2 separate regions of the Homo sapiens genome follow, and region 1 is linked to region 2. The links are contacts of gene promoters, found by promoter capture Hi-C in blood cells and fetal thymus (Javierre and others, 2016). All regions are on one chromosome and are shown on one strand. The core of a region is centred on a gene start or on the middle of the fragment in contact, and the rest is flanking DNA. Distances in the headings are between cores, read along the strand shown. Region 1 has its middle 84 kb from the start of LINC00323. Region 2 holds the start of PCP4 (Purkinje cell protein 4).

Region 1 (6,471 bases), core at 333-2,832, 1.2 Mb before region 2:
TTGTATGCAGTGCCCATTTGAAGAATTCAGTCACCTCTTCACCATCAAGATCACTCAGTCCTTGGTCCTGGGGAGGAGGTATCGCCTGTCCATGTCTCTGGTATTAAAGTCTCGACGTGGCTGAGAGGGACTGACCCCATGCACTTAGGGTTCTGAATGGTGACTTTTGTGTGTCAGACTATAAAACCCCTAAAGAGGAAAAATACATATGGTAGCATGGGAAGATTTTCTCTGTCTTTAAAATTTTGTCTTGTAAAACCGAGTAAATTCTTGAAGTGGCACATCAACAAAAGAAGGATATTATACAAAGATGTATGGATAGGGCTATTGTCCCAAAATATCCATGTGTTTAGGGGAAAACTCCCAGAATGTCGACTGCGAATTTTCCTGATGTTGAGATTATGCGATTATGAGTAGCTTCTAATTATTGTCATACATTTCAATATTTTTCAAATTTTCTACAGTTGATGTTGCCTTTACATTAGAAAATATAAACATGTAAAACGTACCTCTGTATACATGTGTATGTGTGTGTTGTGTGTGTTGTATGTGTGTATGTATGTGTGTGTGGGTGTATTGTGTGTTGTTTATGTGTATGTATGTGTGTGTGTTATATGTATTTGTGTGTGTTGTGTGTGTTGTATGTGTGTATGTATGTGTGTGTGTTGTGTGTGTATGTGTGTGTTGTGTGTGTATGTATGTGTGTGTGTTGTGTGTGTGTGTTGTATGTGTATATGAATGTGTGTGCATATTTGCACAATGTCCCGGGGTTTGCTTTCCAAAATGTGATTGTCTTTGTATATCACCTAAAATCTGCTTATTCCTCCAGGGGGAAAAGGAAAAAACTCACTTCTGAGCAGGGCCCTGAGTTGCTTTGTGAACTGCTAGCACTTCCCCACGGCCCTGAGATTTGGCAGGTAGGAATCTTCTTCTTAGCCCCGTGATCCTCCTGCTGTGTTTTTGGCCCCGTCCCCGGAACTTAGATTCCTCAGCTGCAGTTCATAGTGATAAGAGGTAACATTGGTTGGGCACTTATTTCTTCACTGGATGCATATTTTCTCTCATTAGTCCTTGCACTGAGCCTGAGAGGGAGGCTCTGCCATCATCTCCACTTTTCCAATGACAAGACAAAGACACAGGTGTGGCCAAGACCCCTGCATCACCCACCAGCCACCCTGTTCCTTCTAAATGGGGTGGCGGGGCACCCCCAGGGCGTGTGAGGCTTACAAAATCAATTTCACCAAAGAGGTTCTTGGGAATTCAATAACATATTGAGATTAGTTGTTTAAAATACATTGAACATTTCAGTGTATCAAGTAGAGTCCACACACTTGGTCCAATCTAGGTCTGGGTGAGAAGGCTGCCTTCTTATGGGATCTGGTTGGATGCACAGGGGATAACAGGTCCCGCTGAGACACGGTGACCATGTGGTCCAGGCCTCTGTCGATGGGTTGCCTCCTGCTGTCTGGGCAAAGACCTGACCTCTGTGGATGTGAGAGACCGAGGTTTACGCACAGGCTCATGGCGGAGAGACTAAAGCAAGCACGGCCCAGACAAAGTCCGAGGTGATGCTGGGAGGAACTCCAAGACCGTCTGTCTGCTCTGTGGCTTTCCTGGTGCAAAACCCCTGCTGTGTTAGGGCTAAGGTCTACCTCATATGTCCCTGGAATAGGGAATGTATTCATTTACATTCTTACTCAAGAACATGGTTGATGTAACATGTTTCCCTGGCAGTCTATCTTGAGAAGTTTCATGGCAATCATTTTAACTAGCAACCACTCTAGAACAGTAATAGGCAAGTCAAGTTAGTGTCAGTCTATCCTAGACACATGCAGAACCACGAGTCTTTCTGAGGGATGATGACTGCATAGACTTCAGACACATGGCATGTTGAAATGGAGCAATTGTGAATGAAGCCCTAAGCAGCGTGGTGGACAGAAGTGTTGAAAAAACATCTGGAATGCTGAATTCTTATCGCTGCCAGTCACTGCATGACTCTGCAAGATTACAACTCTAAAATGCTCCTTATCTCAGGATTCTAACTAATTGTAACAACTCTGGTTTTTTTGATTGTCATACATTTAGGAGCAAGACAACTTTGCAGCTGTCTTTCCCTTAACAGATCACACAGTCTTCGTTTTTTTTTTTTTTTTTTTGAGACGGTCTCACTCTGTCACCCAGGCTGGAGTGCAGTGGTGCAATCTTAGCTCACAGCAACTTCTGCCTCCCAGGCTCAAGCAATCCTCCTGGCTCAGCCTCCCGAGTAGCTGGGACTACACACACCACCATGCCCAGCTTATTTTTGTACTTTTAGTAGAGACAGGGTTTCACCATGTTGACCAGGTTGGTCTTGAACTCCTGACCTCAAGTGATCTGCCCACCTCAGCAGACGATCTTGGAGTTCCTCCCAGCATCACCGCTGACTTTGTCTGGGCTGTGCTTGTTTTAGTCTCTCCACCATGAGCCTGTGCATAAACCTCGGTCTCTCACGTCCACACAGGTCAGGTCTTTGCCCAGACAGCAGGAGGCCACCCATTGACAGAGGCCTGGACTAGATGGCCACTGTGTCTCAGTGGGACCTGTTATCCCCTGTGCGTCCAACCTCCCAAAGTGCTACGATTACAGGCGTGAGCCACCAGGCCGAGTTGAGATCATGCAGTCTTTTGGCTCCAGGTTGTGACATTCTGTGGTGACTTCTAGTAGATCTCTGCTCAGACCCAGGCACTCATTTATTCAGTCAACAAATGTTTATGGAGCTAGGAAAATGAAGTGGGAGACAGTTCTCTGCCTTTAATGATTGCACCTCTTAGCAGAGATGCCCACAGCCCTCTAGACACAACGACACTTTGTGTTTGTGTGTAACAGACAGCGAGGACTCAGGTCAGGGTTTAACAGAAGTATGTTTGCACTAAACACATCTCTGTGGGTTTGGAGTTGGCCTGGCTGCGTCAGAGTGGAACGCAAATGAGGTTTAAGTTATGTGCAATTAGAAATTTCTCTTTTCCCCTTCGTCTGGTTTTGCTCATCGCTAATCTCATTTCTTGCTCTCATACCCATCATCTGTCCTGGCATCAACTTAGCAGAACAATGTCTATGAAATTAAATTCACAACAGCCTTGGCAGCTGATTCGGAATCTAGTCCTGATGTCATCTGGATCCTGGGCTGCGGCCAGTGTGGAGGCCCTGCAAGGAGCAGAGCAGCAGCGGCAAGGCCGTTTGTAGACAGGCCTGTTGAGCCCCGTCTCGCCTTGGGGAGGGCAGCAGGAGGCTGAGCTCTGTGCCGAGAAACTCCAGGGACCATTAGAAACCCTGGAATTGCTTCTTCCGGAACCTTAATCCCCATGACTTAAGGACACCAGGAGACAGACTTCCACCTTTTGGATAAAATCACTCCTAACAGTTAGCTAGTCACCTCCAAACAACACCGCATGCTAAGAGCCCAGGATTCCTACAGCCTATTTCCCAGACCTTTGCGTTCTACCAAGTTTCTTGGGGGATGACAATCTCCCTCATCCGTGTATTTTATCTCCCTCCCCTTTTACTTTGCCAGCTGAATAATTTGGCTTGTGTAAAACAGAATGACAAAAGGTGATTGTTTTGAGCCTTTTGGGCAGGGACTGCGTAACAGGCCTTTTAATTCCCAAGAAAATTGCTTTTTCTATACAAAATATACTGTACCATTCACTTCTCAGCAGAGCCATTTCTATTCGAACATAGCTTCCTTTCAGATTCGACATACAGTATGTAAATGTGAGCTAGCAACCAAAAGCTCCTTTCTAAAATCGAGACTGTTAATATTTCCCTTTTAGGACTGTCACCTCCCTCAGACGGCAAATTACTGTCAACTTTCCTGCTGCCTGGCAGTGGGTAACTGAGCTTTTTCTCCCATTTGTTGAAAGGAAATATTGTGCTAGGGACCATTTCTAGAAAGACATCTGTATTTAAAAGTCATTATCTCCAGAAGCGGGCATCAAAAGTCACTGGCCGTGCTCTGTTCACATCAAGTAGTCGGCGAACAGGTTAAACATCTTTCCATTGTGTGTGAACTTGGTAACTCTTGGTCTATTTTAGAAGGCTTCAGTTCGGTGTAATTACTACGGTTTCTAAAGGAGTTTCTGTGTAATTACCATGTAGTTTATTTTATGGTAACTATGCAATTAACTTGTCTCACTTCTTTAAGTGGAAAATACTATAATTCTAATACAAATGGTTTGGATGCTAGTTTCCCCAACCATACTTTCAAATATCTATATTTTAAGTGATTTCTTCATTTTTTCCCTTCCCTTTCTTCAAATAACAAATCTGGTTTAGTTATTTTATTTTATTTTTTTTGCTGTTTTTTTTTAGAGCAAAAAAAGGTAAGATTGTTAAAATTTTATTGGGCAGCCCCAAATTATCAAGTTATGTTTTGGGACAATGATAGTTAAACACAACGGTAGTTAAATGATCCACACCAGTGAATGCTGGCCAGGGTCTTTACAGAATCTCTCGAGGTCTGATAGAAATCAAGAAGAGAAGCCAGAGGAAAATGGATACATTTGTATTTACTTTTCATTATGTCAGAATTAGCTTTAGGAGGCAATTTTCTAGACTTGCCATTTCTGCTGGGAAGGTGAGGGTGGCATTTGGAGAGTATCCAGGGGACATCCCCTCCAATTGTTTAAGGCACAGGTAGGGCAGATGGGGCTAGATTGCCATGAAAGGCTTTGAAAAGTGGAAGCTACCCCATCGCTAATTATACCCTAGGGGAAAGTGGAAAGTGTCAGCCCATAGATTTTTTTTTTTTTTTTTTTGATCTGGAGTCACGCCCTGTCACCAGGCTGGAGTGCAGTGGCGCGATCTCGGCTCACTGCAACCCTTGCCTCCTGGGTTCAAGCGATTCTCCTGCGTCAGCCTCCTGAATAGCTGGGATTAAGGCATGCACCACCACGCCCAGCTAATTTTTGTATTTTTAGTAGAGACGGGGTTTCACCATGTTGGCCAGGATGGTCTCGATCTCTTGACCTTGTGATCCACCCACCTCAGCCTCCCAAAGTGCTGGGATTGCAGGTGTGAGTCATCGCACCTGGCCAGATTTTTTTTTTTTTAATATCATTTCAATTGTTCCTGCCTGTGTAACCAGCTGGGATGGCATTTATACAGCCCACTGAAATGTCTGATGAATTAAAAGCAAACCAATTTACCTGTCGAACAGTGGGCCCAAGGCCAACCTTAGGCATAATTCTGACTCATCTAATCTCATCAATTCATTTCTCCATTCATCTTTCCAAGCATCCAAGACATACAAATACCTAGGCATTGGGGCAAAGGAGATAACACCCCCACCCCTGAAGATCTTATAGCCCTGTGTGGGAGGCGATTGGAGTGACAGACAATTAGAATAGAGCAAGAGAGCACCGTGATGGCGTGAACAGTCGTGCTGTGAGAGCACACTTGCATTCTACAAACACTCTACATTCTACAAATAGAGCACCTCCTATGCACTGGGTGTTATTCTAGGTCCTGGAAATGCAACAGAGAGAGACCCATGAAATATCAGTCCTTACGGTGCTCACATTCCAGTAGGAACATGGGAAATCCACAGGTAAACATGCACACTGATTGCATGCGATGGTGTGTTTCACATTCTGCAAAAGGACAGGGAAAAGGGCTGGGGAAACAAGGAGCCATGTTGGATGTGGTGGCCAGGGAAGGCCTCTCAAGAAAGAGGCATTTGAGCAGAGACACCATAAAGTCAGGGCGTGAACCTTGGGAAGGTCTGAAGAAACTAGGGTCTCCGCAGTGGACTTGGCAAGTGCACGGCACAGAGGCTGCTGTTCCAGGAATAGTGAGGCTGGATGGGAGCCTCTGGGAATGAGGCCGGAGAGGCTGAACTGGAGCCACATGAACATCACAGGGAACTGGTGGGTGTACTGTTGTCTGTTTTTTCTGCATGAGATAGGACGTCGTGGGAAGATTTTGGGTGGGGGAAAGACAAGATCTGATTTTGTTTTTTAAAAGGAAAGTATTACTCTTTGGCTGTTGTGTTGAAAATAGAACATAGATGGGGCAAGAAGGGAAGGTGGTGAGCAGTCTACAGTAGCCCCTCTTGACCCAGGGGAGGCCTTGCAGGACCTCCGGTGGATGTCTGTTGCCACGGATAGTACTAAACCCTATATAGATTATGTCTTGTCCTATAGATACCTATGATGAAGCTTAACTTAAAAATTAGGCACAGTAAGAGATTAACAGTAACTAATAATAAAATAAAACACCTGTAGCAACATACTATAATAAAAGTAAAATCAGGGTGGTTTGGACACAAGCACTGTGATATCACAACAGTCCATCTGATCACTGAGATAGCTACTAAGTGACTTATGGGAGCATAGTGCAGACAGTGTGGGGATGCTGGACAAAGAGGGGGTTCACATCCCAGGCAGGATAGAGCAAGATGGTGAGAGATTTCATCGGGCTACCCAGAATGATGCA
Region 2 (6,062 bases), core at 1,695-4,194:
CATAGATTGCTCCAGGCACATCTGACATATTTTAATACCAAAATGTAAATCAGACACCCCCACAAACCACCTCCTCTCTCTCACATTACCCTAAATTTGGACTTTACTTTCCTCGCTGTACTTTACTTTCCTGAGCTGTTCTTTTCTATCACATGTCATTTCCCCTAAAAAGTGTTGTTACAGGAAATAAAGAAGACGTCTTGTTGTAAAGCTGCCCAGTTTAAAGCCAGTTCGAGGCTCCCTTTGCCACTCCACCTTTCCCTTAAAGGCGGGGAGGCCTGGAAGTGCAGAGCAGGCCCCGGGGAGTATATGACACTTTGGGGTCCTCTCCAGCCAGCAGGCTTGCCCACTGGCCTGGGTAAGCAGCTAATGAGCTCCGGAGCCTCTGCAGCAGGCACTCAGCCCTGGCACTGCAGCAGGCACTATTGGCCCACCAGACCCCAATCAATCCTAAGGTCAAGGAAAGTCTGGCAAAATCCATTGCTCTGGCTTTCTTTGGTAATTAGTCACACATGCAAGTAAATGATGATCTGAAAGCCATTTCTGCCTGAGAGTTATTAAAACTAGGAGCCACATTTAATTCATCCAACCAAAGAAACCCCTTGAGGGGTGCCATGAAGGGGGAATCGAGTTCTCTACCCAGAAAGGAGCTTCTGTTGCACTTTACTAAAGATTTTAAGCAGATTTGAGGTTTAGTCAAAGGACAAATTCCTGCTCTCCAAGGAGCACATGCCCAGGAACTTGGAGATCAGCCAGGAGCGGTGGCCATGCTGATGGTCAGAGGGAGGAGGCCTCATGTGATGTGAGGGGGAGAAGAGGGCAGGAGGGAGGATGAGGAGCAGAGAGCTGGGAGGGGTTTTGTGAGCAGCAAGGGGAGGCAGAAAAGTGGGATGTGCCCCTTGTGTGCTTTTATCCACATTAAAGGAACTAAGGCAAGAGCTCCTGCAAGAACCTGCAAATGTGTCTGATAAGCGCCATGGCGGGGCGGTGACTACAGAGCTGCCCTGATTACCCGTTCAGCAGGAACCAGGCTGTGACCCTAATCACAGGTGAGCTCTGGAACACGCGCTTTCTCCCTGGAGACCCGCACAGTTGAGTGAGCCCAGCAGAGCTGAGCATCCTGGAGAGCTCATGAGCACCTTGCTGGCCAGAAGCCTCAGCAAGTGACGGCATGACTGAGCCAGAATCCCAGGGTAGCTGACTTGACCCGAGAGGCCACCCCTCAGTGCTGTGCTGCTTTCTAAGTCCTTCTTCTATAGGAAACTCTTATTGGATAAGTTGTATATAAAGAAAAACCACTCCACGCAGCCATCCCTTCTTGTTGCAAGCAAGGTGAGCTGATGTGGACACAGAAGCTTCTGAAATATCTGTAGAGTCCAGCAGAAAGCCCCTCCTCCTAGCATGTGGGAAATGGAGGTCTCATCCTCATCATTCCATCTCTATTTCAGAGCCCCAGCTCCTTTCTTTCTTTCTCTTCACCTCCCCTCTCCTCCTCCAACCTCTGCCATCCCCTCTGTTCAGCAAATTCCATACACATTTAGACATCAAGATTCACCCGGCAGTCAACCACCCAGCATTGCAGCCCAAGTCTTGGCTCTACTGTTCTTTAGCTGGTGACCTCAAACCACTTAGTTCCCATCTCTGTGCCTCAGTGTCCTCATCTGTCAATTGGGAATAATAATGGTGCCCACTGCACGGAGTTGTTGAGAGGTTCAAAGAAGGTGACAGATGCAGAGACAGCCTGACACTGTCGGCACACAGACCATTAGGCAAGTGTTAGCTGCTGTTACAGGTACCATTGATTGTGGTGGTGGGAGAATTCCCATCTTCCACCCCACAGTTGGTCTCTCCCTGCCTCAAACCCCTGGCTTTGTCCTAAACCCCATTTCTAAGTTTTATAGTGCTTTGCTCTTCTTCTTGTCATGTTTACATCAAAAATCACCCATCAGAGAGATAAAAGCAGGGAGGAGGCATTTTATTTCTGAAGTTGTTAATTTTATCCTAGACTTCCAAGAAAAGAATCATCCATCTGTCAAAAAGAGACAGAGAAGATAAAAGATCTTTAAAAGTAATTATTTAAGTGCCAACCAAGAGGAAATGAAGATGCATTTGGCTCGGTTATTGAGTTGAATTAGAGAATGGTGTTGTACCACCGCTAATCTGCTTCATAGATGAGAAAAAAGGAGAAGATGATTTTAGAAAAACAAACGTGCTGTCAGTTGGCCCCAGTAAAACACATTCTGTATAAACAAGTTTAGAGAAGTGACTTTGGATTTGCAAAATTGTAGCTCTTCTTCTGCCGGGGCCGCCTCCGGTCTTAGAGCCACAGATCTATACACACGGATGTTTCCCAGTTCCTACTACTTTTTGCATTTCTTTCCCTGGTGCTCTGATTAACTGCAGAGGTAGTTTGTACAACTGAGCCATGAAATGCCACCCAACGGCCAGCCCTTTCCCCACCTTGTCCCCTTCCCTTCCATGGCTTGCATTCACCAGATGACCACCTGCCCACTCACATTCTGAAAGGTATCACCGCGGGAATCATGCAAAGACACGCATCTTCGTAAGAGAATAAAACATTTGGCTTTCTCTTCTGAGCTCTAAAACCCAAAGCACTTTTCAAAGTCACCATTCAATCAGAAAGCAAACCTTTCTCCTCCTCAGGCTAATTGTAGAAGTTGCAAACTTAACCAATTTCTGCACTTACCATTCAAACCAAGAGATTAATCCTGTCAGTTCTCCAAGCAAATAATTACAGGATTAATTTGTTCCTCAGCACTGCTAAGTCCCTCACATTTCCTGAGACTAATCCTTCAGCCGAGGTCCCTTCTCACTCCTAAGTTTCCCTCTCCAGGTCGAAGCATCACTCACCTCACTCATGTTGGCTCTAACTCAACAGCTCAGTCCCGCCGCTCAGCACAGAGAACACTGCTCAGGGGTCGCTGCTCCACCGGTTCTGGCTTTTCTCTTAAAAAGAGCTGCCCGGTGGCATCATGCCTCCCTGGAGCCAATGAGATGCATTCACCTGTCTGCAAGCCTGGCCGACATCTGAGAGCACCAGGGGCCACCTAGTGGTGCAAAAGAGAACGGCACGTTAGGTCGCTGCTCCAAATTCCGCCAGGATGGAAGGAAATGCTCGATTTCTTTAAAAAGTAATACACTCCAGCCTGGGCAGCAGAACGAGACCCTGTCTCTTTTAAAAAAAAAAAAAAAGTAAAAAGTAAAAGCTAAAGTTTCAAAGATCATCACAGGGATGCCATTGTGCGTTTTTCAATGAGTGCAAGATTTACATGCATGTAAAATACCTTTCAAATGTCAATGGGAAGGATTGTTTTTCTAAGGGAAGAGGAGCTCTGAAAATACCTGCGTGCCCGCTCACGCACTTTCAGGTTTTCCCAGGAGCTGTGTTTCCCTTGCCCTTTATAACACAAAACTCAGCCCAAGGACTTTAATATCTCTGCTGTCTCTCCCCTATCCCATATCTGTCGCCCTGCTTGTACCCTGAGCTGGAAGGATAAGAGTAGATGGACTGGGACATGGGAATGGGTCCCCACGACCTCAACAAAGGAGGCGAGCGGCTCCAGCAGCCTTGCTGATGTGCCCTCCTCACAACCACAGTGGGGCCAGGAAGGAGCCTGGGCATTGGCCCTGGCCTGGTTGAAGGTCTCCTTGCCTTAGTCCTGTTCAGCTTTTCCGGGAAGAGGTTCCATCCTTTGTTCAGTCCCAACATCGTGAGGCTCTGAAGAGTCTTCAAGGCATCAGAGTGGGCCCTCAACTGTCCCAAAAAAGCGTTGTGCAGACTGAAGGCACATTCACATCTGTTACTCTGCCAGTCCCGGTACAGGACTGAGAGGGTCTGGCGAGAAGATTGAAGCGTCTTGCCACCCGTCCCCAGCACCCCTCATCTCCCTGTGCAGAGCAGGCCACCAGACTCCAGCCCATCAACCCTCTCTCCTCAGCTCAGCAGCCCCACGCCCTCTGACCTGGACTGCCCTCCTTACATGCCCAGGTCACCGATGCGACCACATCCTCAGGTCCACCTTGGACAGCAAGCAGAAGGCCATGCGCCCCCAAATGGGCACCGGCGAGCACAGGCTGCCCTCAGAGGCCTTGGCCAGGAGCACCAGCTGGTCAGCACCCTCGCCCACAGCGTGGGAACACCAGCCAGCAAGACAGAGTCTCATACATGAGTTATTATAAAATAACCTATATTTCACAGAGCGACAGAAATGAACATTATATATATTATATAAAATATGTGTGTTATATTCGTTTCTTTTATATGTATATAAATTATTTATTTACATATCCTGACCACACAAATCATTTGCAAACTAATGAAGACAGCATCCTCCTTCTCTCACTCCCCTCCTCCTCCTTGCCCCCAATGCCACGCTTGGGAAGGCCCACGTGGGATGCCTTTAGGGTTGCCCAGGTGGTTAGTAGTGGGAGAGAAGGAGGAGGAGGGCAGGGTGAGGAACTGGAGCCATAGTGTCATCTGCGATGTAGGACAGATTGACAGATTGGAAGAAGGGTGCTTGCTTATCTATACTAGGAGACACCTGTGATTTCTCAGGGGCAAAAACCACACCCTCCCCAGGGGCCTCCTGCCCTGTTGGGGGCTGGACCCCCACAGCCTGGAGGTGTAGAAGGGGTCTCCCAGTGTGAGCCTCCATGGGGTCCCTGCTGTGGTCCTCCAGGCTGTGCAGAGGGCATGTGGAGAATCAGCCTGTGCTCTGCTGGCTGGCTCTGGAGCAGACCTGCATTTTCTAACAACACAAAGACACATCAAGGGCTGCAGCAGCCTGAGGTTGGCAGCACAGCAATTAGTGCTGAGGCTCCAAGTAGAGGGGCAGGATTGGAGGTGCAGGGCTGGGCTGAGGCTTTGCTGGGTAGACTCAGCAATTCTTTGGGACCAACCAAGGGACTATGAAGACTATTGGGGAGAATGGGTTATGGTCTGAGCTGATTGCCTTCCTCCAGAATTCATACATTCAAGTCCTAACCCTCAATATCTCAAAATGTGACCTTATTTGGAGAAAAGGTCTTTAAAGAGGTGATTAAGTTAAAACAAGGTCACTAGGGTGGGCCCGAATCCAATAGACTGGTGTCCTTATAAGAAGAATAGATTAGGGCACAGGCACTCGCAGAGGGACAACGCTGTGAGGATACAGGGAGAAGATGGCATCTACAAGCAAAGGAGAGAGGTCTCAGAGGAACCAACCGTGCTGCCCCTTGACCTCACACTTTCAGCCTCCAGAACTGCCAGGGGATACATTTTGGTTGCTTAAGCCACGCAGTCTTGGTACTTGATTCTGGTAGCCACAGGAAACGAACACAGATGCCATCACAAGCACACAGAGAAATTTCAGGGAAAGGATAGAATTACCTTAAGGGGGATTTTTCTCAAGGCCTTGTGGTATGCAATTTCATCCTACTTATTTCCCCAGGATATCTTTAGCAAAATAACTATCTCCTGTTAATGAGTCGTGGAGTTGTCCTGTTATAGAGAACACAAAATGAACGTTCAGTATTGCTACAAAGGGAGGGTCAAGCTGCCCTGGGAAATCGGTGCTCGCCAGTGACACAAGACAGGTCTGAGTGTGCAACCCACCAGGTCTCAAATGCAAGCATGCTAGCTGTCAAGAGGCACCCCAGCCTGAACACACATTGCATCCTCTCCCACAGATGGGCCCTGGGACGACATCTCCTCCCATTCATCCTCGTGGGACAGTACTACCCCAATAAGACCAGTTACCAGATCAAGAACGCCAAAGACTACCTGGACCTCTTCATAGCATATCCAGGGACAAGGACAGTCAATGAGCAATCTTTCAACCTTTTCCTGTGGTTCCGATGAGCAGTCAGGTTTGAGACGTGCTGCTTGACACAGTGATACTCTCTCCCTTTCCACCTCCTTTTCAGGCCCGCTTGGCTGTGGTTTACTTTTACACATGTATGTCAATAGCTTCAACGTGCCCCATCATTCGACTTTTCTCAGGTTAGCCAAACACTCTTACGTGACCAATGGGGTTCTGAACCAGAAGCTTAGAACTTGGATC

Evidence for each region. The method cuts DNA at HindIII sites, captures the fragments that hold promoters and counts their contacts. A CHiCAGO score of 5 or more calls a contact.
Region 1: a fragment that was not itself captured here is called in contact with the fragment with the promoter of PCP4 in region 2 in 1 of 17 cell types (M2 macrophages); the score reaches 7.1 in M2 macrophages.

Annotation. Positions count from the first base shown.
Region 1 is chr21:41,061,227-41,067,697 of GRCh38, reverse strand. No RefSeq gene overlaps it. Among named protein-coding and RNA genes, the nearest start is that of LINC00323, 84 kb to the left of the region's middle. The HindIII fragment of the contact is 9,228 bases long and covers 1-6,196 here.
Region 2 is chr21:39,864,320-39,870,381 of GRCh38, reverse strand. PCP4 (Purkinje cell protein 4) reads right to left here and starts at 2,944. Exons shown (of 3, transcript NM_006198.3): 1 at 2,872-2,944. The coding sequence starts at 2,880. RefSeq lists a silencer at 893-1,046. The HindIII fragment of the contact is 4,692 bases long and covers 1,358-6,049 here.